Regions from separate parts of the Homo sapiens genome. Here all the other regions are linked to region 6. The links are contacts of gene promoters, found by promoter capture Hi-C in human tissues and cell types (Jung and others, 2019). All regions are on one chromosome and are shown on one strand. Each heading gives the region's core, a stretch centred on a gene start or on the middle of the fragment in contact. The rest is flanking DNA. Distances are from core to core; before and after follow the strand shown.

Region 1 (2,700 bases), core at 201-2,700, 380 kb after region 6:
GCCTGGCATACACAAAGGATGAGGATGAGGGCGAGGCAAAATGAGAAATCGGGTGCAAGAAGTAGGGGGAAAAAAACCTTCCACCCTTTCTTTTTGCATCCAGAGGTACATCTTCATTTCAGAGTAAACCCAGCCACAAATGAGGGTAGCTGGGAGCATGTCCCTTCTTAGGCAGCTGAGAGGATGAAAGAGCCTCCCAACGCCTTTGATGCAGGCTGCATATTCGAGCACATTTTGAAACGTGCATCTGTGCTGTGTTGGGCCTGGAACCCCGGCGGCTCGGGGCTGGCCTTGGGCGGGTGAGAAGGAAAACGTTGCCTGGCGTTACCTGCGTCTGGAATGGGTTCCCGGAGCAGCGCTAGGCAAAACCCGGAGTGGATCTTGGGAAGAAAAGCAGGCGCTGCTCCCGGGCTCAGCACCCGGTTTCTTAGGCGCCGAAAGGTCCACCGTTTGCACACACCAGGGGTGGAGGGCTCGCTAGCGGTGGGAACCTGGAAGGGGCCAAACATGCTGTTCAGAATAATTGAGGAGGTAGAATATTCTTCCTGCTTGGTAGTGTGAAATCACTTGTTTATGGCTTCCATTCAGTCTCCGGTTTGCAGATAATGCCCCTTTCTAAGCGGTGAAACTCATGAATGTTGATCTTGCAAATCAAGCTGACACTAGCAGCTTTTGTCCACCAGGGCGTACATCAAGGCCTGCCTTCTCCCCAGCACGTTTCCCCCCTCCTCGCCATGCGCATCCCAGGCTCCCGGATTCATGAAAGGCGCGCTCCGCCCCAAGGCGACCTGAGGGTCTCTAGCAACAATCCAGGGGCTTGTCTGCCAAGCGCTCGGGCCCCACTTGGAGCGTCCTGTTCAGAGCCTCAAAGAGAGGCCCTGAAGACAAATGGCCCCGACAGGAGGAGGTCACCCAGTGAAGGGCTGCGGGAGCTCTAGACCCTTGCCCGGAGGCCTAGGCGCTCGTTCTTAAACGCGCAAACCGAGCCAAGCCCGGACAAAACCCGGGCTCCGAGGAAGGAAGCAACGAAACAATCGCATTTATGTAAAGGGAGGATCGAGGAGAGAGAGAAGGCAAAGCCAGCCAGGATGCGAGGATCTGAAATAATGAGATCAGACGGGGGACGGCGGAGGTTAACTACACCCACAGAAGCCATCGATAAAAGAGGCTTTGCTGGAAGTCAAGCCGACCGCTGGTTTTTAGAGTGGCTAGGTGGTAACTCTGGATCCTGCTGTAATAAGATGCCTTTTAATTAATGCTAACGAGCTAATGTTTATTAACTGTTCAAAGCTCCAGAGGAATAGGTGCGAACTGCAGACCAAATATGTCTTTGGGTGTTGTGCGATGAATGTGACTGCTGAACGAATTAAGAATAGTCAGAGGCACCCTCATTCTTAGGGATCCAGGCTCATGAATAAAGATATTCATGCGGCCTGGTGCGGTGGCTCACACCTGTAATCCCAGCACTTTGGAAGGCAGAGGCGGGTGGATCACCTGAGGTCAGCAGTTCGAGACCAGCCTGGCCAACATGGCGAAACCCCATCTCTACTAAAAATACAAAAATTAGCGGGGCGTGGTGGCATGCACCTGTAGTCCCAGCTACCTGGGAGGCTGAGGCAGGAGAATGGTGTGAACCCGCGAGGTGGAGGTTGCAGTGAGCCGAGATCGCGCCACTGCACTCCAGTCTGGGTGACAGAGCAAGACTCTGTCTCAAAAAAAAAAAAAAAAAGATACTCATGCTTAATTTAAATTGTATTATGTGGCAGTCTCCAAACTGGTCTCTGTAGCAGAGGCCACTCATTGTGCTTCAGAAAGTTACTGTTTACCTGTGTGTGTTTCTGTTGAGAATCATTTCAAAGCTGAGGTTGAGCTGTGGGAAGGATATATTTCCACACACAAGTCTGTACTTTAAAAAATTATCTTGGTTGCTTGGTACAGGATGAGTTACCAAGAGGGTCAGGATTCCTGCCGGCCTGGCAATATTTCCTGCTTCCCACCACCCCACCCACTTCCCCAATTTACAAGCCCTGCCCCCTCCCCTAAAGAAGACCTGTGAATGACAGGCTAGTCCTCTGCCTCCTGGTCCCAGCAAACAGGAGCACTGATTCTTGGCCTTTCTTAATCGACCTTGCTGTGACTTTGACCACCATAAAGTTCACAAGAGAAGAGATCATAAAGGATGATCAAAGTCTAGTTTTCTGAACAGGAGAGATGATCAGAGTGACATTTGGGGTTGGCACACATTTCCCAGACAGAGGGAATATGGCGAGTTAAGGCACCGTGGGAAGAGTGTCATCCATATGTCATTGTTCACTCTTTTACATTAGTTATGTACTCCAGTCCTGGAATCCAAAGGTCAACAGAATGCAGCAAGTGAACTGCTGCCCTTCTGTGGGATGAATTCTTCAAGAACAATCTTGGCTTTGTCAGTGTTTCTTACCTGCATGCCTTCTTGGATCTTGGTGTTTTCTGTCTGTTGGCTTTGACAGTGTCCAGATTGGAGGTTATTTTCATCCATGCAGTCTTCCTTCCCTCTCATTCCCTGGCCTTTGAAGAATGACCCCTCTCTGACTCCACATGGCTCTGGTAAATCAGGACATGTGACCAATAGGGAATATGACCAGGCCAATCCTATTCTCTCTTCCAGGAACTGGGATTTTCAATAGAGAGACCCAGGATATAAGAGGTTGAACAAATTAT
Region 2 (2,700 bases), core at 141-2,640, 440 kb after region 6:
AGACTATAAGCTTTGAAAAGAAGTGTGAGTAGGCGCTAGCACAGCTGTGGTACAAAGGTAATCTGCAGATGCCAAAGCCTCTATTTTCTTACACAGGTAGCAAGGAACATAGGCTTTTAGTTATTTTTCTTCTGCCAGTAGCAATGATTCAAGAGGTAGAAAATGAAATATTCTACTTAAAAAGAACAACGGGCACATTTACAGTTAAGAACTTTTAGACAACTTAACAAGACAGACCTGGGATCCCTCCAGGTTGAACGTCTGAGCGTTGTGACAGAGAAGCATGACATCCTTCTCCAGGTCGCCTAGGCTCCGGTACTTATGATTACGAATCCTTTCCTGATGGAAATTTTGGAGAAAATGGAGAAAAAAAGAGGGAGAGGAAAATTCAGCGATCATTACTTAGTTAACAAAGCCTGATTTTCCCTTTGTCTTCACAGCATAAAGCCCTGCCAGGGATCTGGGACTGCATAACCCCAGGGGGCGCCATTCACCAAGTCCACCCTCCCACTCCCACTGTCATTCCTTTTGCCAAGGAGGAGCATATGATGGGAAATGAGAAGAGCAATAATGTGGGCAGGGGGAGCAGGGAGCCTGAAAGCTCTTCAATAAAATGCAATATAACGTGAGCTCTCAACATGATTAAGTAACACTCACGGAAAAGCACAAGGACATCCCAACCTTTCCTGTCGCGAGCCCTGGGTACCCATCAGTGGCGGTCAGCTCCAACTACAACCATTTCAATGACTTTACACTGCTCCTTTATTTACTTGAAGAATAAAGTTGGTAAACAAAATATCTACCTTTATTTTTTTGAAATCCACTGGCTTCCTAATTAATTCATAGTATTCTGGTAATTCTTTCCTTGAAGGTAACTGAATGAAGACTTCACTGAGCTGTCGCCCTGAACTGTAGGATGGGTGAAACAAACAAAAACAAGCCACATCAAACATTACTGAGGAAAGGTTTTATTTTTATTTCAGAACATGTCAACAAAGTAAATTATATTCCACGCATATAGATATGGAGCTTTTTAAGTCAGGAAAAATCCCACAACTCTATTGGAGATTGATGTCCCTTGTGATAATTTTAAGATCACAGTAAAATACAATTTGGTCCCCACTTCTGTCACACATACAATATGGGAAATACACTGTGGATTTCCCTTTCAGAGCAAATATATCTCTTTATTTTGATAGAAATATTTAAAATATCCTTGTTAGCTAAAAATTTCATTTTTAAATGAATTGGTAAATATATATGTATATATATACACGTACATATATATAAAAATATACATATTTAAACATTGTATTTCCATACTCCTTTGTTTTCAAATTCACATTGTATTTAGAAAGTAACTCAAAATAATATGTTAGAATATACTCTGGAAACTCAAGTGAAAAGCCTTCGTACGTACCTACTGGCTGACTATTTTCTTGGTCTTATTCCTTTAGGGTATTTTACATACTGTAAACCACACATACCTTTATTATTACTTGCCAGAGGAACCCCTTCATCTTGCCTAACTGCCATTGTGTGTGTGTAGAGCAATTTGGGTGAAAGAAGAACATGTTTCACAAGCTTAAGTGTGGATGCTTCACATTTCTGGGATTAGTGCTGTACCCTCCCCCAAATTCATGGTAAGTTTATTTGAAAGCAGGTTCTATAGCAACAAATGCTTAGCATTTTTGTAATTTTCAAACACAGGCTACAAAGCATATGAGCTTTTAACATCACTTACTGTTGGAAGCAGATGTGGTTAAAGGCACAAAGAGATTCACAATTTAGGTTCAAGATCCTAATATCTGATTTGGTCTACTCAGATCAATAACAGCTTGTGGTGTGTGATACAGTCATTTTTCACAAAAGTCTCACTCCCCTTAGGATGCCATCTCTACTTCCTTTGTGAAGCCAGAAATATCAAAAATTAATCATAAATCACTGCCATAAAAATTTCAGAAGGTGATTCTAGGAGCTTGTGAGAATACTAGAAGGCAGTGGCAAAGCATGAGTGACAACATGCTGTTTTAATCCACAGTCCCAGTTGTATAATTAAAAAGTAATCATAATGACAGTTATCATAAAAAAGGCATGCGCAGTAACTCAAACAGTTGCTTAGCAACCAGTGGAAAAAATGCTGAAGTGCAAAGAGGCCTGCATAAATTAACCGAAAATCCTCTGTCAAAGAGATGGGCTAGTTTTTCTGCTACACTGGGTCATCGTTTTTGTTTTATTTTTTTAATGCACATATGGGCCTCATGAGTACGAAAATCAGGGGTGAACGCAAGAGGTTTAAGAAGACTGCATTTTACTCAGGAATTGGATTTCTGGATCACTGCAGCAAGAACCAAGGTGTTCTCTCACCCTCTCAACCACCCCTACCCCTCACATCTCTTCGAGAAATGCGTTCGTCCTTCCCTAACTTATGCCACATAGTATATGACAAGAACTATTTTATTTACCATCACCTTCAACACAGGGCCACAATTTCTGGTCTGTTCTTTTCCTACCATTCTGAGATTTATACACCCAAACATTTTATCTGTTTGAAAAGGTGCCTATGAAATGCAGTGAGAGTAATTTGTAGAGAGCAACTTGCTTAATGAGCATTCTTTATCAGCTAGCAGCACCCCAAAAGTCAGACCTCTTTGTAATCGCGGATTTAACACCTGACTCTCCCTCAATGACACATCTTCA
Region 3 (2,700 bases), core at 153-2,652, 360 kb after region 6:
GAGGCCTGCCAAGATAGCAGATATGGAAACGTAGGTATTCCACAGAAAAGGCCAACTGATTTCAATTGCTAAAAACTGCATGGTGAGCAAGATGATGCACAAGGCAAAGCAGCCCAAAATATGGCACTTGACATTTACTTTTTTCAGTGTGTGTTGTAGACACTGCAGTCTATAGAGCCAAGGTTTTATTGTCTTTCTGCAGGTCACTCCTTGTTTTCTTCTATCATCTGATAGGCTTCTGTTGCTGTCCAAGTCATTACTCTAGTGTGAAGATAGCCTTAAAAGAATAACAAAAGTCATTAAACATATGTACCTAGTGCTTGGTTAAGAGAGGTAGAGAAGGACTGCAGAATAGCTACAGTTCCCTTTATTAAAATGGAAACTAGAGTCAAGGTGTTTGCTCCTCCAGGTCATCAGTGCAACCTATGGAAGAATCTGACTTATTGCTGCTATCCTCTTTTCTAAAGGAAAAATACAGAGTGTTATAATTATAAAAGGGTTTTAACTAAATTCACCTAGTCCAATCTGTCCCATTTTATAGATAGGGAAACTGAGACACAAATGGTTTAAAAAAATTCTCAAAATTACAAAACTGACAGACCAGGACAATAAAATATTTAATTCACAACCCCGTTTCCTTTTCCAGATCCTCTATACAAATCCTCTATCCCTCTCCCTCTCTTCCTATCCTCTCTTCTCTCTCATTAAAATCACCTTAAGCAAAGAGTATGAATAAAATGAATGATATATAGAGTACCTAGCCATGCTTCCTTGTAGCTAAAGTAAGATTAAAGCATTATCTGTGGATGTTAGCGTCCATCAGCAGACAGGTGCTCCTGGGGTTTGTCAGCAGGTGCAGGAAAGAGGAAGCTTGCTGATGATTGAACATTTTTTCCAGCCCAATGCACTCTCAGAGGAAAGAGCCAGGGCATCACATGTTTGTCATTGCTTACTATTGAACTCTCAAAGCATTAAAGCGACACAATGTGTGGGGGCTATGAGCCCCTTTATTAGTAGACATACTGAAGAAACAAGATGTAAGGGAGTCAAAAGGAAATTAACATGGTCAGGATGTTGCTTCGGTACCTCTTTCCATTGTATGTAAGCCCTTAAAATCTTTCCCCAGAGCAATGCATTATCCTTCTCGCTTAATGATGAAACATCGGATGCACACCATTATAGAGATGTGCTTTGACATTTTTTTTCTCCAAAAGTGATGGGCGTGTGATGATCCAAGGTTAAAAGCAGTCTGCAGACATAATTATGACAAGGAGCTAGTCACTTAACCCCTCTGACTTTCATTTTGTTTTTTTTTTTGTTATTTCCAATTTATAAAATGAAGGAATTGAATTAGATGACCTCTGTGACCCCTTCTAGCTCAGACATTTCAAATCTATAAACACAAAACCATCTGCCTCACGTTGGGACTAAGCTCATAATTTTGTTTCGTTAGTGGTCTGTCTTAATCAGCACAGCAAAAAGGAGAGAATACAGTTTTTATTTGACTGGTGGACACTAGGAACGCCCAGGTTCTTAGTTGGAATCCTCTTCCTCGGAAAGATTTTGTTTGTAATGTGGCCACAAATCTTGCTCCTAACTTGCTGGTTTACTGATATGTAATGTTAAATCAAACGAAAAGTAGCTTTGAACAGATACCTATGCTAGAGCTGAATCCACAGCTTTGTTGAAAAAATTCTTTTTTTTTTTTTTTTTTTGAAACAGAGTCTTGACCTCCGCCTCCTGGGTTCAAGCGATTCTCCTGCCTCACCCTCCCAACTAGCTGGAATTACAGGCTCCCGCCACCACACCCAGCTAATTTTTGTATTTTTAATAGAGTTGGGGTTTTGCCATGTTGACCAGGCTGGTCTCGAACTCCTATCCTTAGGTGATCCACCCGCCTCGTCTTCCCAAAGTGCTGCGATTACAGATGTGAGCCACTATACCCGGCCTGAAAAAACATTATTAATTGCACATGAGAATCATATTAAACTCTACATATCCCAGTTATCTAAGGCTTCTAGAAGAGAAGTGACATGAAATCTCATCTTGAAACACTGACATCTCCTTAGGAGGATGAGGAGTAAGAATGGGAGTTGTTATTGGAGCCTTTCTTCTGTAAATATAATGGCCAGTTAAGGTGGATGATGTTCATGGTTAATCAAGTCTGGATGAGTTTACATAGAAAAAAATTTAGTTGTCTGGTTCTTGAAATTTTTTTTAATTGAGTGCATAAAAAACTGTATAAAGATGTGACACCCCTGTGTGAAAGAAGATGCCCTGTTCTCAGAGCTAATGGAAAGTGTCATCTATGTGGAACCAATTATTGTAGATGGCTCATTCATTCACTTATTTCTTCAACCACAATGTTTTTCAGTGCAAAAAATGCCCTAGCATTAGGTGCAGATATTGTGAATATGAATAGAGATGGTGTATGTGCTCAAGGGACTAATTGTCTAATAAATAGGGAGACGAACATACCCTGAGTGTACACCATCTATAATGCAGACACAAGGGGTGAGAAAGACTATGGGAGATACGAGTAACTGTCTTAGCTAGGGAGACCTGGAGGTAGCACTAAGAGGTAACATGTGGGCTTTGTCTTCCAGAATGGATGGCAGAAATGTGCAGTGGAAATGTCAGGAAAAGGCATGTGTGCTAGACATCCTGTTTGCCCCTCCAAATCCCACACTTCTGACCTGG
Region 4 (2,700 bases), core at 10-2,509, 270 kb after region 6:
GAGCCCTGTTAATCCATCACTAAATGTCTGTGCTATTATGCCCAGAGTAAAAGGATCGTCCTCATTTTTAGTCCAGACGAAAGACTTCACAAGCATTAAAATAGCTCCAATTGATCAAAAATTAAACAGAGCAAGATAGAATTAAAAAATGAACACAAGTCACTGGAGTGTTATGCTTGAAATTATTTCTGTGTTTAGGGAGGGAAGTTTGGTTCTTTAAAGTTACTTTGAGAGGAAGTTTGTCCATGTTGGGGAAAAACATATCCTTTTTCCTTCACCCCACTGTCCACAGCAGTGCAGGAGATTCTACCAGACCAGGAAGGAGCTGTGGGTGGGAAAGCTCCACGTGGAACTGCTCAGCTGACCTCGATGCTGCTGGATCCCTCGTGTCTGTCGGAAATGAACTGGAAGGGTGGGGTCACTGGCCCCACAGCAGGCGCTCCCTCTGGTCTTCGCCTTTATCATCCTTCATTATTCTGTTTTCCCGCCTTGGCTTGGGGCCAGCCCTTCTGTCCTGCCATCTTCTGAGACTGTGAATAATTCCCTCCCTTCATTTACATTGCTTCTGTGAAGTGTAACTTTATCATGTTCCTCCAGAGCCTTCTCTTTTTCTAGGTTATATAAATTTAGCTCTTCACTCTTTTTTCATAACTTGCCCTCCAATTCTCTTGCTAGTTTATTAATTTTCCTTCATTTCTTGCACATTTGCACAGGTACACACCCTTTTTGCATAGTAAAGGGCCATGGGAAACAGGAATGAAGAAACTGTGAAAATGCCAAAATGTAAACTGAGAAGAGGGGAAACAGGAAATGTCTTTAGACTGATAGTAAATGCATAGAAACTTTTTTGGAAAAGGCCCATGAAAAGAATGCCATTTAAAAAAGGTTATGGTTTTTGGAACCTGTATTCAGTTTCTCCCTCCAGATAGAGAGTTCTAATTAAAATCAGCCTATAAGATGTTTTCAACATGTGCCGAGGGCTGGGCCATGAAAAATCTTTCTCTGACACTCCTGTTCTCCCTTTTCCCACTCTAATCTTTCCTCTCCCCAGAAAAACAAAAACAAAACTCACTTGCACCCAGCTGATTTCAACAACTCAAACGAGTTCCAAAACACGGAGAGCCGCAGAGAAGCCACGTTCCCTCAGGTGAAGGACAGGGCATGGGCACTGACTCTACCCTCCCCACCCAACCCACCGCCTCAGGGTAACTGCAAGGCTCTCCCTGTGTGTTTAAAGTCTGCAGATTGTTATGGGGACAGATGCCCTCCCTACCTTGCCCCTGAGCTTCTCAGCTCACCGTACCTGCTTCTGGGGGTCACACTTGGGGTTGCTTTATTGCACTACAGGAAATACTTGAGGGAGAATCGATGAATCTATGCCTTGTTTTTATTTTTCTAGAAACACAATCAAAACCCAAGTTCCTTTTCTTTTATGATTTCAAAAGCTTTGTTTTATTTTTCTCTCCCTTTTTCTGGCCTCGTTAATGTTTCTGTTGTAAGGAGTTGAAAATAAAAATGACCCAGGACTTGTATGTGGCCACTTCTAGCATTAGGGGCTAACAAGAATGATTGCCTTCCAGGCTTTCTCTGTTACAATAGCAAGGCACTTGGCACTGCGTAGACTGAGACACGACTAACACAGGATAAAATCTGGGCAACAATAGCGTGCTTTTAAACAAAATCTTATGGTTACACATTTACTTCAGATCCCAAGAACTTCCCAAGCTTTTACTTTATATTATCTGCAAAATGTGGTTACTCCTCTTCTACTGGTGGACACCCTGAACTGCAAAGAGGTTCTGAGACTTCCCCTTTCTACATTGTTGGCTGCAGGCCTGAGGCCGGAAGCCAGGGTCCCAGTTCTCCAGAACTGTCACCTGATGTAGCTGCCCTTTGGGGGGTGAAATCATGGGACCTTCTGCCATTATGTATCCTTTAGCTCTTAGGCTGTTACTTGTGTTTTGAAGTGTTTATACTTACTTTAAGAAGGTGGGACTTATCTTTGTAGAAACCAAAATGTTATACTAACAAATGCCAAATTGTATTATTCCAAGACCTACAATGGCTTAGCCTGATGAATAAGTCCTCTGGGTTTACCTAATCTGATTTTACTAGGTCCTTGTGTTTTGCAGCTGACCTCAGCTGGGCTGTCCATGGTTCCACCGGGCAACCAGGAGAGATGGAGGCAGGTGGTGGTTAAAGACACCAGGGTTGGCATGCATTGTGTGTGGCCTGACTTTAAGCAGGGGAAGAAAAAGGTCCATGAAGGTTATTATGCGCTGACTTGTGCTCCCGCCACCAGCACACCTGCCTGTCCACTAAAATTCATATGTTGAAGCATTAACTCCCAGTACCTTAGAATGTGACTATATTGGAGGTAGGGTCTTTAAGAGGGTGATTAAGTTAAGATGAGGCCTTTTGCTGTGATCCAATCTGGCTGGTGTCCTTATAAGAAGAGATTAGGACATACAGAGAGAGACACCGGGGATATACACACTCAGAGAAAAGGCCACGTCGCGATAGAGATAAGAAACAAGCACACAAGGAGAAAGGTGGTGGGAATCGAGTGAGACAAAACAGGAAGTCCAATGTCTGAGGAATCATCAGATGCAGCCAAGAAGACAGCCATGAAGTATGGCAGGTGGTAAATTCTGTTGACCACAGTTTTCAGCCCTTCGGCTTATGAAGCACGCTCTTCCT
Region 5 (2,700 bases), core at 143-2,642, 460 kb after region 6:
CTTCTCAGCCTTTTGGCTAAGACCAAGTGTAGTATCTGTTGTTACATGCTTAATATCTGATTCCTCCTCTATCCGAGGACAATATGTTAAGTGGATTTTGGAAGCAGGGAGCTAGAAGAGGAGCTTGCTTCATCCACTCCACACATCGACCTGGTACTGCAGTACCTCCAGGAATGATGCACCCCCTTAAGAAAAAATTTTTTTCAATTGGTAATTTAAAACTGATTAATACCACTATGCAACTGAGAGAGTGAAAATGTCTGTTTCCTGTCAATTTTTCAACTGAAACGAGAAGCCATCTTCAAATAAAAACATTACCACGTGATAATAAAGTGGAAACCAAGTCAACTAACCAAAACGTAGCCTAACTAGTTCATCTACTGTATGGATCTGACTGACACCCTACAGTGTCTTTGGTTTTCAAATAATTATTCACTGTTTAAAATGGCCTGGGAGGAGTGTCCCACACAGCTTTCTCAAAGTCTGTATCCAAAAATCCCATAAAAAAGGTAAATTTGCTGAAAGACCATGCTATGTGGTATTAGGAAGAAAGAGATAATTCAAGTGCTCAGAAATTCAAGTGTTGGAAGGAAAGGAGAAACTGTATTTACTATGAAGCATCTATTTTGCTTTAAACAGTCTTAACATGAAATATTTACCTTAAATATATTAGGATTCTTCTTTCTCTAACAATTCAATTAAAAAAAATAATATTACTCCATCATTCCAATCCCTTTCATCTGAAATATCTTCATTTTCAGATGGTATTTCAGAGGTCCTTAAGAATCCTTTTCTAATTTAGATATTTTAAACATTTTGTAATCTAAACTAAATTTTCAACTATCTTAAATAATACCTGATGAAACATCATACAAAATAGCAACAGTGGCCATTTTAAACAGGTACAAAGAGAGAAAGCCATAAAACACAAACTAGAAAGAACCTTAATAAAACCTAAGTGCACAACTTAACAACTCCTGCTCCTCAGGGAGCGCCACTCGGCGTCTTGGTGAGAGATGATCAAGGTGAAGGAACCAAACACTCACCTATCTTTGTAGTTTATCACAGTATCGATGATAGCGTTCATCTGCTTTGTCAGTTTGGGGGGATTTGGTGACAGTTTCTCAGCGGGAGGGCGGCCTCTTCTCTTCTTAGCTTTTTCCACATCTTCTTTTGCAGGATCTTTATCCACATTTCTTCGTCTTTTTCGCTTCTTAAGCCGTACTTCCTCTTCCATTTCCTCCAAATTGCCGTCTTCGATGGCCTGTTCGTTGGAAACAAAGGAGACAAATTCAAGACAAGAGAATAACCAAGACAAAAAAAGTATGTGTATATTTATATATAGCTCCAACAATTAGAATAAAATGAAAGAAATTAACCAAAAAAAAGTAAAAGTTAACAGTAATCAGTGGAGGAAGAAGAAAAAAGGAATGCTACCATATTGGATAAATGCATCTTTAACTCAAGTCTGTTTCATGAGCAAAACACACTGAAGGCCCAAAACACTCACAGTAAAGGAGAATATGACAAATATTAAAAGATCTATAAATTCAAGTGTTTGATGATAACTGAATCCAGATGAAATTTTAGCTCAGTTTAAGAACAAGACCCTAATGTTCTCATTACTGTAAGGGAAGGAAAAGGTAAACAAAACGAGGGGTGGGTTATGAAAAAACAATCCCTAAGAATACATCCACACGATCATATAAGCTTTGACCTTTTCTTCAGGTTTTGCATCAATTTATTCATGATTAACAATATAAATCAAAATTCCATCTAGATTTTTGTTCTAACGTGGCAATTAGTAAACAAGGAAACGGGAAAGTACAAAGCCACATTCCTTGGTAAACGCACTTAAATCATTCGATAAAGAACACACACACTCACAAACAATAAACACTTTTTTCCAATTACCTGCAAACGCTTGCTTTAAACCAGAGCCAGCAGCACTAATGCAGAGAGATAATAAAATAGCTATAAAAACAACCAGGTATAAAAGAAACCTGTTCATAAAGGGCTAAAAGATCCATGTGACAGACCCAGAAGTTTAAACTTTTTTTTTTTTTCCTGGTAAATCTCAAAACTCAAAAGAAGAAAAATAAAGGGGAAAAATACTGCCAAGGAAGAAAAAAAAAAAGAACATAAAATTTGAACATAGAAAAGAAATTTTCTAAAAAAAAGATCTTTAAATTACGTTTTGAGATTGCTCTCTCACACAAAATAACTAATGTTGTTATTTGTTCCTCCTGCCTCTCAATATTGCCTCCAGTATGCAAATGATAATCAATCCTTTCTCGTAGCTGAAAGAGCTCTAATCATAAGGCAATTACCTTCATTTCTCCACAGCACCAAACATGGCTAATATTTATGATCATGTGAGTATAACAATCAATATAAAGAGTGATTACAGCTCAGACATAATTTCTTTCACTTATGTACAACGCTTCCTGAAAAAGAAAGGTTTTGTGAAGAAAACCTGGTGCAGAACACAAAACAACCTGGCATGTTAAAAATGCCAGTGGGATTTTTAAAAAAATATGTTTTCTACGCATCCTCCAATGTGCAAATCCATAGAAGCAACATGCACACAGACAGATTCCTAAGGGACAGTCTGAGCCTAGGCCTTAATAATCAAAAGACAATTTCCATCACGATCCTACAGTGTTCAGATAACCACTATGAAGGAGGCGAGATCTGATG
Region 6 (2,700 bases), core at 87-2,586:
GAATGAAGGCTAATTACAGTCACTAGCCTAGGACTCAATTCCTCTCGAGGAAACGTCACCGGGAAGGAGGGTCAGCAAACTAACCTGATTAAGTCTCCCCTCCACTCCCCCTCCGCGTTCAGCTACACGGGAGACCCGAGCGGTTTCCAAACGCCGCCCGAGGCGGGGAAAAGGGAGAGGAGAAGCGCCCAGAGCAGAGTCCTGCGTAAAGCCCCGCCGCTCCCCTACCCCGCACGCCGGAGAGGCGGCCCCGCGCCGGGGGAGTCGCAGTCCGGGTGCCCTCGGCTCCGCGGAGCCTCCCGGCCGCCGCCCACCGAACGTGCGCCAGCTCGCGGCCGCCGGAAGACTCTGAAGCCCGGCCGGCCCCTGGCGCTCCGCGTCCCCGGAGGCGCTCACCTTCTCCCCCCGTCCGCTCCCGCACTCCCCGGGGTTCGAGGGTGCGCCCGAGGCTGCCGCACACGTCTTGGCCCTCTGCCTCCTTCCCAACACTGCGCCTGGCAGAGGAGGCAGAACCATTGTTCAATGCTCAGAAGCCCACGCACCTCGGCGCCCGTCAAGAGGGCGAGAAACGAGGCGAAGCAGCGGCTCTGGGGGAGGCGGAGTGAGGGGCAGAAGACTAGTTCAGGCGAGGCGTCGGGGCACCCCGAACCCCGCTGTTCCCCAAGCCCGGCTCCCTTTAGCCTCGGCGCTGACAGCTCAGAGGCGCCACCACGGAGGGGAGGGAGGGAAGGCGAGGAGAACCGAGAGGCGCCTCCTAGGAGGCGGGTGGGCAAACGGAGACCTACGCCTCGGGGTCTCCCGGTGCCCCGGCTGGGTCCCGCCCGCCGGCGGAGGGGCGCGTCCTCACTCACCGGTTCCGGTGGCGCCGCTCTCCCGGGGCGCCCAGCACAGCGCGAGCAGCAGCCAGAGCGCCCAGAGCGCGGACGTGCCCATGGTGCCCGCCTGGATGGTGCCGCCGCCGCCGCCGCCGCCGCCGTTCGCTCCGCACGACAAGTTACCAGTCCTTCCGAAAGGAGGAAGAAGGTGGGGGCGGGGAGGGGAAAGGGGGAGAAGGAGGGGAAGGAGTTGGCGGGGGAAGGGAGCGGGGAAGAAGAGGGCACCCCCTCCCCTACAACTTGCACAGTCTCCTCCCCACCCACCCAGCCACCTCCCCGGGCTGCAGCAGCAGTGCAAGCCGAGCCTGCGGGCAGAAAATAATGCAGGCGCTGCAGAGGAGGGGAGGCAAGGGGAGAGGAGGGAAGGGAGAGGGGGTGGGGAGCCGAGAGCAGAAGAGAGCACAGAACGGAGAGGAGCCGGTAGCGGAGCACCCGCACCGGCGGCGGCCGGAGAGCGGGGTGAGCAGCGGGGAGGGGGCCGGAGGGGGCGTGGTCAACGGGAGGCGCGGCGGGCGGGCGGGAGCGCGGCGGCTTCGGCCCTCCTTTCCCTCGACGCGCTCCTCTTGCACGCGCCGGGCAGCCGGGTGCCCGCGCGGGGAGCGTGCGAGTGTGAGCGTGCGTGAGTGACCGCGGTCGTGGTCGTGGCTGCCGCCGCCGCCACCCGGACCGCTCTAGGGGCCCGGCTGCTCCGCGCGTTCGCCTGGGGCTCACGGGGGCCCGGGGCGACCGCTGGTTGGCTCGCGCGCCGCCCTCGCCTCCAATCCCGGGTGCCTGTCCTAATTTCCTGATCCAGGGAACCTGCCGCCGCAGCGGCTGTGCGCTCCCTACAGTCATTACTGTACCCTCCCGGCAGCCTCCGGCAGAACACGCAGCAGCAGCAGCAGTTAGCGCTGATGCAACTATCGTTGCTGTTGCCACCGCCTCCCCACTGACGGGGCGTGCACCTGGGGGGTACTTGCAGTTTCCAGGGGCAACAAGCATCTCTCTACCACCCTCTCCTGCGCCCCTGAGAGAGGCTGGTAGGTAGCATCTTCTTCGGGCCTCCTCTATCCACTCAGAAAGTGATGAAGCGGAGGGGCTCCAAACGTTTGGGCTGCTCAAAAGTGGGGTTTGGGATGCCGGTCTCAATCGCACGCTGAGATGCCGTTTTGCCGAAAACTAAATGTGTCTTTAAGTGAGAGAGTGTGTATGTTTGAAAGAGAGTGCGCGCGGTTGTGGCTGGTCCTCTGTAATAGAACAAGACTGAAATAACCCAGCCTGGGATGAGGAGAAGGGAAATTGCTAGCGCAGCTTTGCATTTGCTCATCAACGATTATAGTTAATTGCTAATTGCACAAAATGATAGTTTGAGGGCCTGTAATTAAAAGCTTAACCTTTTCTTGTTTGGAAGAGAGGGGCCCCATACGTTTATTCCTCTTGATATACTTTGTAACATTCAATTACAAGAATCGAGGAAAGAATAAAGGAAGCAAAGACAAGACTCCTAGAAAGGGTTGGTTCTTCTTTTGTGCCTGACAGTACCTGAGTCTATAATTTGCTTTTTGTGTACTTCAGTTTTCTTGCACACTTAGCCCTGGTTGAGGTGCATTGTCTGCTGTGGTCTGTTGAGCATCTAACCAGAGTGGGAGGGCACATCGAGCGATTTCACTTTCTTAAATAAAAGGTTTTTGGTATTTTGAAAAAGTTGTTTTTATCTTAATTCAAACTTGGAAGGTTTCAATAATATCATATTCTGACTCTATTCTGTTGGTGATCTGAAGAGCAGCGGGCACTGCCTCACTGTCTTCTCCTTGCCCTGGTTCTCCTGGAAATTTGTCAAGGCTAG

The links. Contacts are between HindIII fragments. The study calls those that stand out against the background at their distance.
Region 1: a fragment that was not itself captured here is called in contact with the fragment with the promoter of VLDLR in region 6 in 1 of the 25 tissues and cell types used here (dorsolateral prefrontal cortex).
Region 2: a contact is called between a fragment that was not itself captured here and the fragment with the promoter of VLDLR in region 6, in 2 of the 25 tissues and cell types used here (heart left ventricle and hippocampus).
Region 3: a contact is called between a fragment that was not itself captured here and the fragment with the promoter of VLDLR in region 6, in 1 of the 25 tissues and cell types used here (heart left ventricle).
Region 4: a contact is called between a fragment that was not itself captured here and the fragment with the promoter of VLDLR in region 6, in 1 of the 25 tissues and cell types used here (lymphoblastoid cells).
Region 5: a fragment that was not itself captured here is called in contact with the fragment with the promoter of VLDLR in region 6 in 3 of the 25 tissues and cell types used here (dorsolateral prefrontal cortex, heart right ventricle and hippocampus).

The regions. Positions count from the first base shown.
Region 1 is chr9:2,239,675-2,242,374 of GRCh38, reverse strand. All of the region lies in intron 1 of LOC107987043 (a long non-coding RNA gene), which reads left to right. Among named protein-coding and RNA genes, the nearest start is that of SMARCA2, 230 kb to the right of the region's middle. RefSeq lists enhancers at 374-1,248, 1-1,439. The HindIII fragment of the contact is 3,743 bases long and covers 1-2,700 here.
Region 2 is chr9:2,179,780-2,182,479 of GRCh38, reverse strand. SMARCA2 (SWI/SNF related BAF chromatin remodeling complex subunit ATPase 2) reads right to left here. Exons shown (of 34, transcript NM_003070.5): 30 at 804-909; 31 at 238-339. LOC107987043 (a long non-coding RNA gene) reads left to right here. Exons shown (of 5, transcript XR_007061395.1): 3 at 1,458-1,643. Among named protein-coding and RNA genes, the nearest start is that of SMARCA2, 170 kb to the right of the region's middle. The HindIII fragment of the contact is 3,385 bases long and covers 1-2,700 here.
Region 3 is chr9:2,255,914-2,258,613 of GRCh38, reverse strand. No RefSeq gene overlaps it. Among named protein-coding and RNA genes, the nearest start is that of SMARCA2, 240 kb to the right of the region's middle. The HindIII fragment of the contact is 4,855 bases long and covers 1-2,700 here.
Region 4 is chr9:2,353,530-2,356,229 of GRCh38, reverse strand. No RefSeq gene overlaps it. Among named protein-coding and RNA genes, the nearest start is that of VLDLR, 270 kb to the left of the region's middle. The HindIII fragment of the contact is 5,263 bases long and covers 1-2,700 here.
Region 5 is chr9:2,160,250-2,162,949 of GRCh38, reverse strand. It overlaps SMARCA2 (SWI/SNF related BAF chromatin remodeling complex subunit ATPase 2), which reads right to left. Exons shown (of 34, transcript NM_003070.5): 28 at 1,047-1,264. It also overlaps the pseudogene RNU2-25P. Among named protein-coding and RNA genes, the nearest start is that of SMARCA2, 150 kb to the right of the region's middle. The HindIII fragment of the contact is 3,757 bases long and covers 1-2,700 here.
Region 6 is chr9:2,620,423-2,623,122 of GRCh38, reverse strand. VLDLR (very low density lipoprotein receptor) reads right to left here and starts at 1,336. Exons shown (of 19, transcript NM_003383.5): 1 at 852-1,336. The coding sequence starts at 933. VLDLR-AS1 (VLDLR antisense RNA 1) reads left to right here and starts at 750. Exons shown (of 4, transcript NR_015375.2): 1 at 750-1,023. RefSeq lists silencers at 202-291, 302-391, 662-931, 1,542-1,621 and an enhancer at 1,500-1,794. The HindIII fragment of the contact is 11,914 bases long and covers 1-2,700 here.